Regions from separate parts of the Homo sapiens genome. Here region 2 is linked to region 1. Evidence: promoter capture Hi-C in 16 types of primary human blood cells and fetal thymus (Javierre and others, 2016). All regions are on one chromosome and are shown on one strand. The core of a region is centred on a gene start or on the middle of the fragment in contact, and the rest is flanking DNA. Distances in the headings are between cores, read along the strand shown. Region 1 holds the start of MAST1 (microtubule associated serine/threonine kinase 1). Region 2 overlaps TNPO2 (transportin 2).

Evidence for each region. The method cuts DNA at HindIII sites, captures the fragments that hold promoters and counts their contacts. A CHiCAGO score of 5 or more calls a contact.
Region 2: a contact is called between a fragment that was not itself captured here and the fragment with the promoter of MAST1 in region 1, in 1 of 17 cell types (erythroblasts). The highest score is 7.1, in erythroblasts.

The regions. Positions count from the first base shown.
Region 1 is chr19:12,835,711-12,839,872 of GRCh38, reverse strand. MAST1 (microtubule associated serine/threonine kinase 1) reads right to left here and starts at 1,358. Exons shown (of 26, transcript NM_014975.3): 1 at 1,218-1,358. The coding sequence starts at 1,300. RefSeq lists silencers at 1,278-1,327, 1,378-1,557, 1,562-1,745. The HindIII fragment of the contact is 9,607 bases long and covers 1-2,407 here.
Region 2 is chr19:12,699,614-12,703,737 of GRCh38, reverse strand. It overlaps TNPO2 (transportin 2), which reads left to right. Exons shown (of 26, transcript NM_001382241.1): 19 at 1-24; 20 at 212-310; 21 at 820-915; 22 at 1,561-1,666; 23 at 1,887-1,986; 24 at 2,066-2,140; 25 at 2,285-2,412; 26 at 2,495-4,124. The coding sequence ends at 2,392. It overlaps SNORD135 (small nucleolar RNA, C/D box 135), which reads left to right and starts at 67; the gene lies at 67-141. RefSeq lists enhancers at 1-293, 294-903, 1,514-2,123, 1,401-2,600. The HindIII fragment of the contact is 1,590 bases long and covers 1,448-3,037 here.

The DNA.
Region 1 (4,162 bases), core at 109-2,608:
CAGTGTGCAGTGGCTCACTGCAGCCTCAAACTCCTGGGCTCAAGCAATCCTCCCGCCTCACCTCACCCTCCTGAGTAGCTGGGACTACAGGTGCCTGCCACCATGCCTGGCCAGGATGCATGATCCCCCCTACATGTATCTATGTCTTTGTGTGGCATTCTGAGTCTGTGTCCGATACTGTCCTTCCGTCTGGGTGTGACATTCACCATGCTTGTCCATGTGTATGTAGCATCTATTGTGTGAATTTAACATCTTGTGACACTGTGTCCAAACATGTCACCACATTTGACATTCTCTAGGTGAGTCTTGCAATGTGATAACATGTGATTTTGCGTGGTTCTGTCTCTGCAAGATCCCTACATCTGTTTATCCTGATGTCAGTGTGACATAGTATGTGAGATACCTAGATATGACATCGTGTGTTGTGACATTCTTGGATGCATGGATGGGATATTGAAACACATGTTTGCATCTTGGATGACATAACTGTGTGTGTGTGGATCGCCATGTAAGTGACATCTTACTAGGTGTACACGACGTGGTGCCCCTGTGTGTCTGTGCATGGTTCTGACCTGTGGCAGCTGCAAGGCTAGGTATGTGTGGCACCTCCCAGTGTATCTGGGCCACTAGGGCTGTTGTGTGTATGTGTGTGACATCATGTCCTGTGTGACGCTGTGTGTCACTATTTTCAGTGTAAGGCTGTGTTCGGGGGGGGGGGTTGTGTTATGATAAACCCCCCCTTTTTTCTACCCCTCAGCATCCAGCTCCCGAAGAGGGAGCCCCAAGCCCCTCCGTCCGTCCCCTCACCCACAGCCGCAGTGACTGAGCATATTAGCGCGTCCAGGAGCACGCGGCATGGGGGTGGGGGGAGGCCAGGCTGCGGCTATTGTTCTGAGGGTGCCAAGCCCCCCAGCCTCCCCTTCTTCCTCTACCCCCACCAGGCTGTTGGAGCCCGCAGCGCCAGCAGACAAAGGCGCCACAAACCCCCAGTGGCGCAGCCCCCTCCCCCCGCGGCCGTCCTCTCCAGCGTGCAAGCCCCCCAGACTCGGCCCACACCACCCCCCATTCAACCCCAACCCCGGCGGGAAGGCGCAGCTGGGGCACCTCTGGCGCAGCTGGACCGGGCGCAGCATCCCGGGCCCCGCCCTGCAGCAGTACCCGGAGCGGCGGCTTTTGCGGGGAGGGCCGGGACAATGTCTAGGGGATCGGGGGTCTACCTCTTGGTGCGGCGGAACATACTGCCGCCGGGGAAGGAGGGCATCGAGAAATTAGAAAGCGCGGTCCAGAGAGAGTCAGACATGACCCGGCGGCGGCGACATGGTGGCAGGTGCGGCAGCAGCGGCGGAGGCGGCGGCGGCGGCGGCGCGGGGAGCAAGCGCGCGGGGCGGAGGCTGCAGCCGCCGCAGCGGGCAGGGGAGGGCAGGGAAGGGGAGGGCCCTGCGGCTGCAGCCGGCCGGGAGGGGGCGCTGCTGCGTGCCGGCGAGCCAGGCCCCGCCCGCGCACTCGCCTGGCGCCCCCACCCCGGCGGGAGAAGGGGCGGCCAGCCCCCGCCACGTCTCTCCCCAGGCTCACCTGCTGCTTTTCCGGGGCAGGGGCAAATCCTTCTGGAAGGCAAAGGGGCAAAACGATGAAGGTCAGCGTGGACCTGCCGTTGCTGCCCACAAGCATTATCAACTCCCTGGAGGAGCAGAAGCAGGGTAAGACAGGCCCCTCTTCAGCACTGTCACTTTCACCCTTGGCCATGCACTGCGGGCCAAGTTTCTTGGGGGAGAGGATCCCTGGGTGATTCCTCTCCTGACCCTCAGAGACCAACAGAGGCCCACGTACACAGGCGGGGCGCCATATAAAGGCAAGTGAGTTGGCATATCAGCGTGTGTTTGTGCAAATGAAATAGGAATCATTATTTGAAAAATATGTCTTGAGCACCTACTGTATGCTGACCCAATCCTAGGCACTAGGGACACAGTAGTGAATAAATTACAAGTCCGGTGTGGTGGTGTGCACCTCTAGTCCCAGCTACTTGGGAGGTTGAGGCAGGAGAATCGCTTGAGTCCAAGGAAACACCAGCGTGGGCAACACAGCAAGACTCTCTGTCTCAAGGAGAAAAAAAAAAAAGTTTCTGGCCTTTTGGGACTAGTATTTATAGGGTAAAGGGGACATTAAACAAGATTAGTGTAGAAGTGAACGAAATCATTTTAGACAATAATTAGTCTTATGAATAAATTAAACAGGGTGATGTGATGGACAATGGCTAGGATGGAGACACATTGTCAGACAGGGCTGCTCTGTGGAGGTGACTTTTAAGCTGGTTGCTGAAAGATAAGAGCCAGCCATGGGAGGATCTGTGGAGAGAGCATTCCAGGTGGAGGGAACTGCAAGGGCAAAGGCCTGGAGGCGGGAATAAGCTTAGCGTACTCAATGAATGAATGAAAGGTTGAATGAATGAAAGGTTGAAAGAATGAATGACTCATCTACACCTCAGCAGATCTATCTGACTCCCAGCTAGAGTCATAGAGTTGGGGTAGGGGGTGGGGGGTAGGTAAGTAGAGTGACTCACAACTGAGATTTAAAATGGGAACCACGGAGGCTGAGGTGGGAGAATCTCTTGAGCTCAGGAGGTCGAGGTTATAGTGAACTATGATTGCACCACTGCTGGAGTAAGACACCCTCTCAATTAACAATAAATAAATAAATAATAAAAAGTTTAAAAAATAAAAAAATAAAAATGGAAATTCAGGTGATGGCCGCATAGTCATTTTTTATAATGACAATAATAATAATTAGTGAGTATTAACTTTATGTGTCTGCATTTGAAGAAGGTCACCTTCCATTTGTCAAGCTCTTAGGAAGTCACTGTAGGGATCAGGAGATATGGGGTCTTGGCTTTTTTCTGAGGAAAGGAATGGGGTACAAGGGGCAACACCTGCCAGCCAGTTTTCTATCCACAGGGTGAGGTGGAAGGAAGGAAACTGAGTGGGGCTGCAGGTGGAAAGATTTGGGGGAGAGTTTCAAAAGGCCTTTGGAGGGGACTCCAACAAAAGGAAAATGAGGGATGTCCTAGACATTTCTAGGATCTCTAAAAGCAAAAAGCCTAGGTTCAAATCTCAATTCTGCTTTTTATGACCTTGGCAAATGACCTTCCAATAGTCCCGTGTCTCCTTGAGGATCTTAGGAGTTGATGCAGATGCCTAGCCCCTTAGCATGGTGCCTAGCACATAGCAAGTGCTCAATAAATACTAAGTCTGGAGAACAGGCGTTATTAAGGAGGGACATGCTGCATGACAGAGGATGGGCCACAGCGTCCTCCCACCCCGTTGTACAACGGACAAACATATAGGCGGGGCCAAAGGGCAGCCCTGCCCTCCCGAGCCACGGGTGACCGATAATCCAAACCAGGTTTTCCCTCTGTCTTTGCATGACCGGAGTGAATGAGGACCAGTCGACCTGGCTGCGTGTCTGCAATGGCCCAAGCGAAATCAAGACCTGGATTTTCTGGCCACAGAGCCCAGGGTGTCCAGATCCGGGTAACCGGCCTTGGAGGGTAAGCCCCTGGAGGGCTTTTAAGCACCACCCGAAGAAGACCTGGAACCCAGCCCCACCCGCTAGCGCCCCCAAACATTCTAGGGACGAAGAAAGGGTCAAACTGGAGCGGCGGAAGTTCGGGTCTTTGGCGTCAGTGTAAACAGACGCCACCTCCAATCTCAGCTGCAGAGCCGCTCGGCCAAGTGGATTCCGCTTCTCCCGCACAGGATTAATAGTTGACACTGCAGACAGGGCATTCGAACTCAGGATGCTGTCTACATATAAGATCCCAGGGCGTGGTGGCTCACGCCTGTAATTCCAGCGCTTTGGGAGGCCGAGGCGGGTGGATCACCTGAGGTCAGAAGTTCAAGACCAGGCTGGCCAACATGGTGAAACCCACTCTCTACTAAAAATACAAAACTAGCCGGGCATGTTGGCATGAGCCTGTAATCCCAGCTACTAGCGAGGCTGAGGCAGAAGAATCTCTTAAACCCGGGAGGCGGAGGTTGCAGTGAGCCGAGATTGCGTCACTGCACTCCAGCCTGGGCAACAGAGCGAGACTCCGTTTCAAAAAAAAAAAAAAAAAAAAGAGCCTAGCTGCACACAGGGGACCCTCGGGCGCTCAGCAGTGATGCGACAG
Region 2 (4,124 bases), core at 993-3,492, 140 kb after region 1:
TCATCCATGTCAAGCCCTGTATCGGTACGACACTCGCCTTGTCCCTAACCCATGACCCCAGCCCCGGCCTCAAGTGATGGAGAGCAATACCCGGGGATGACTGTGACCACATTGGGATGTATTCGTACTGTCTGATGGGGCCTGCTGGACTAGGTCCTGCAGCTTACCCTGGCTGGCCCTCCTTCTCAGCACCCCTGTTTCTCCCCACCAGCCGAGTTCATGCCCATTCTGGGCACCAACCTGAACCCAGAGTTCATCTCCGTCTGCAACAACGCCACCTGGGCCATTGGTGAAATCTGCATGCAGATGGGTGAGTGCCCTGCAAGTGGCAACACGCGCCCCCCATTAGCCTGTTCTCAACCTGGGGGCGGGAGCCTAGCTCTGACTGACAGCTTCCTTCAAGGCAAGTCTCTTGGGGGTCGTCAGGGGTGGAGCCAAGCAGAAAGGTCATTTGTGATTGGCTTCTCTAAAGAGGAGGGATAGGAGGGCTGTTCTGATTGGACCGTTTTGTGTAGTTGGCTAAAAGACTCATTCGGATTGGTTGGGTGACTTTGGCTTTTTTTTTCCTTTGACTTGGGCAGCGTGTTGTCACCTTAGCGACTCCAGAGAAGCCTCTGTTGTTTGGAGGGTGTGGGTCTGTCCCTGGTTGGCCAGGGATTCTGGGTGGGGATTAGCCGGAGAAGGTCTTTTGTTTCCTCACTGGTAGTGGTTGGCCAGTCTCTAGTTGGAACTGGGGCGAGTAGTGAGTGAGGTGGGGCGGCCCCCTGGCCCCTGTGGGTGGCGGGGGCTGTGCAGGGCTCTGACTGGGTGCTCCCCCAGGGGCAGAGATGCAGCCTTATGTGCAGATGGTCCTCAACAACCTGGTGGAAATCATTAACCGACCCAACACACCCAAGACACTGCTGGAAAACACAGGTGGGCACCTGGCCCGGCTGCTGCCTGCACCCCTGCCTGCCTTCTGGAGGTGGGGTTCTGGGCTGGGAAGGGCATCAGAAAGAGCCTTGTCAAGGAACCAAGGAGGGTGTCTGGAAGTACCTGGAAGGGGTCACTGGGAGAAGCCCCAAGAAAGATGCAGCCTCAGGCTGGGTGCAGTGGCTCATGCCTGTAATCTCAGCACTTTGGGAGGCAGATCACCTGAAGTCAGGAGTTCGAGACCAGCCTGGCCAACATGGTGAAACCCCATCTCTACTAAAAAATACAAAAATTAGCCGGGGGTAATGGCACGTGCCTGCAATCCCAGCTACTCGGGAGGCTGAGGCAGGTTGCAATGAGCCAAGATCATGCCACTGCACTCCAGCCTGGGCAACAGAGCAAGACTCCATCTCAAAAACAAAACAAAACAAAAAAAAACAAAAAGGAAAGGGAAAGGAAAGAAAGAAAGATAGATGCAGAGAGACCTGGGAAGTGACTCAGGTGTGATGAGGAGGACCCCTGGCTGGGCCAAGCTTGGGGGACCAGGGTGGCTGCAGTAGCCATTCCCTTGGGGCTCATGGGGCGGGGCTTGGTGCCTTGTGCCAGAGGCCCCGCCACGTACCGTCCCGGGGCCGCTCGGGGTTGCAGGTCGCCTGACGAGTCCCTCTGCCATTCCAGCCATCACCATCGGCCGCTTGGGCTACGTGTGCCCCCAGGAGGTGGCACCCATGCTGCAGCAGTTCATCCGGCCTTGGTGTGTGTCCACGTGTCAAGCCTGCTGTGTGGTGGGCGGGACTGGCCCAACCCCCTCCCTCGCCTGTGCATTTCCAGCCCCATCTGCCTACTGACTCCCTGCCCTGCCCCACCCCCACAGATGCATGTCCCAGGCCCACTCACTGATCCCCAGTGACCCAGCCCTCCACAGATGCATGCCCAGCCTGCCCTCTGACCTCCAGCTGCTCACCTTCCCACAGGTGCACGTCCCTCAGGAACATCAGGGACAACGAGGAGAAGGACTCAGCCTTCCGCGGCATCTGCATGATGATCGGTGTCAACCCGGGGGGCGTTGTGCAGGTTGGGGCAGCTGGGCTCTGAGGGCAGGCGCGGGCGCTGGGCTCGGGCGGCCCCTCACCTGGGATCCGTCACGTTTCAGGACTTTATTTTCTTCTGCGATGCTGTAGCCTCCTGGGTGAGCCCGAAGGATGACCTTCGGGACATGTTTTATAAGGTGAGGCTCTGTCTGGGCCCTGATCTAGTTCCGGGAGCAGGCAGGGGTGAGACCATCTGGTAACAATGGGGCCTGGGGATGGGGGAAGAGGCGCACTCCCCTTGTTCTGCCCCTGCCTACCCCTCACCACCACCCTCCCCACAGATTCTCCACGGCTTCAAAGACCAAGTTGGGGAAGATAACTGGCAGCAGTTCTCTGAGCAATTCCCGCCGCTGCTCAAGGAGAGGCTGGCGGCTTTCTATGGGGTCTAGGTGATCATGGAGACTGCCAGGTAAGGAGACTGCAGCTGGCAAGTCAGCACTGTCTTGGGGGCCGAAAGGTCCCAGGCCATGACCTTCCTCCTCCCCCTGCAGGTTTCTGTCTGCGTCGTCGTCGGAGGGATTACTGGGGAGTGCGCTGCATCCGGAAGTCGCTGTGCCCTGGTTGAGGGGGGTTAGGGAGGAGTGAGTGGGACTCAAATCCAGATGCCTTCCCCGTCCGTCCGTCCGTCCGTCCATCCGTCCACTTGCCCTCCTGGCAGGTGGGTGGGGCCACCATGCTCATCCTACAAACGGGGAGGTGGGGGGGACTTCTGGTGGGCAAGGGCCCCTGGGCTCTAATAGGGTCATCTCTGGCAGCCCACTTGGGCCAGCTACGTGGGAGGGAGGAATTACACAGCTGACCGAATCCGGCTTCGGATGAGGTGAGGGAGGAGCAGGTCAGGAGGGGGGCCCTCGTAGGGACGCGTACACTCACACGGACACACATGGCCACACGCATGTGCGGGTGCCATAACCGGCGAGGCTGGGCCAGCCGCTCCACCATTTCCCCGACTGCATGGAGACAGTAGAATTAGTGAACCCCTGAGTTAACCCGTAAGGCCTTCCGTGTAACCTGCATCTAGAGTTTAAGAAGCTTCTGCTGTTTTGCCGGAATTGGCGGTGACTGGGGAGGGCTGGGTGGGTGGGGGGCCTCAGGCGGGATCTCGGGGCGGGGGGAGGAGGATGGTGACCTTGGGAGTCGCCCTGTCAGCACGCACATGCTTGGGACCCACTCCACACACTCCCTGCCAGCTTTGTTGCAGCCTCAGCTGGTGGTGTCTCCGTCCTTATCCTAGCCTAGCTCGCAGGGTGAGAACCACTGGAGTGGCTGGGGCTGGCCAGAGGTCACCGTTTCTCCTTCCTGTGTGCTCCAGTGGCTTTTGAAGACACTGGGTTGGGACCTTTTTCCTGAAGAGAGCTGGGTGTAGCCAGAGCTACTGGCACCTACCCCGAGCATCTCTCTCTGTAAGCAGCTTCAGGGGCAGTCCGTTTCTCTGTGCTTCTGAAACCCCCTTCTCACGTTTCAGGCCCCAGTTTTAACTCAAGGCCTGGGGCAGGGGCGTTTAATTGATGATGACAGAGGACACAGGTTTTTGCCAGCAAAAAGGAAAACCAAGGCTTGGTGGAAGGGAAAGGTGGTGTGTCCCCTGTTCCCTATTCCATCTCCCTGGGACTTCCTGCTCATCATAGTACCCAGTGAGCCCAGAGATCCTACTAGACTGGGTCAGCAATTCTAGAGAACCTTCCGGAATAGTCTGGGAACATGGTCAAGGTGGAAGGGGCTCCCCTAGAGAGGGTGGGGGTGTAGTTACTTCCCAGTTGGCCAGAAAACTGGGCCTTGCAGACCCCCTTAGCATTTTTTCCCTTTTTTTCCTTCCCTGCTTTCTACTTCTTTGGGGAGCCCCTTGTGTTTTGGAGTCTGACTGGAGTCTCGCATCCTGGGGCCTGCTCCATCCATCCCTCCTGGGCGCCAGACCCTCCATCCAAGCCCTGTGTCTTTCCATAGTCAGGGTCAGGCCCTGCATCTATTCCAAGGGGCACTCAGTACACATTCCATAAATTAGCTGGGTGTCCCTGCACGCCCACCCCATGAAACTCGAGCAGGTCTCTGGAAGCCATTTGTTAAAAAAAAAAAAAAAAGTTTTAAAAATACCTTTTAATTTTCTGGTAATTCCAGTTCTTT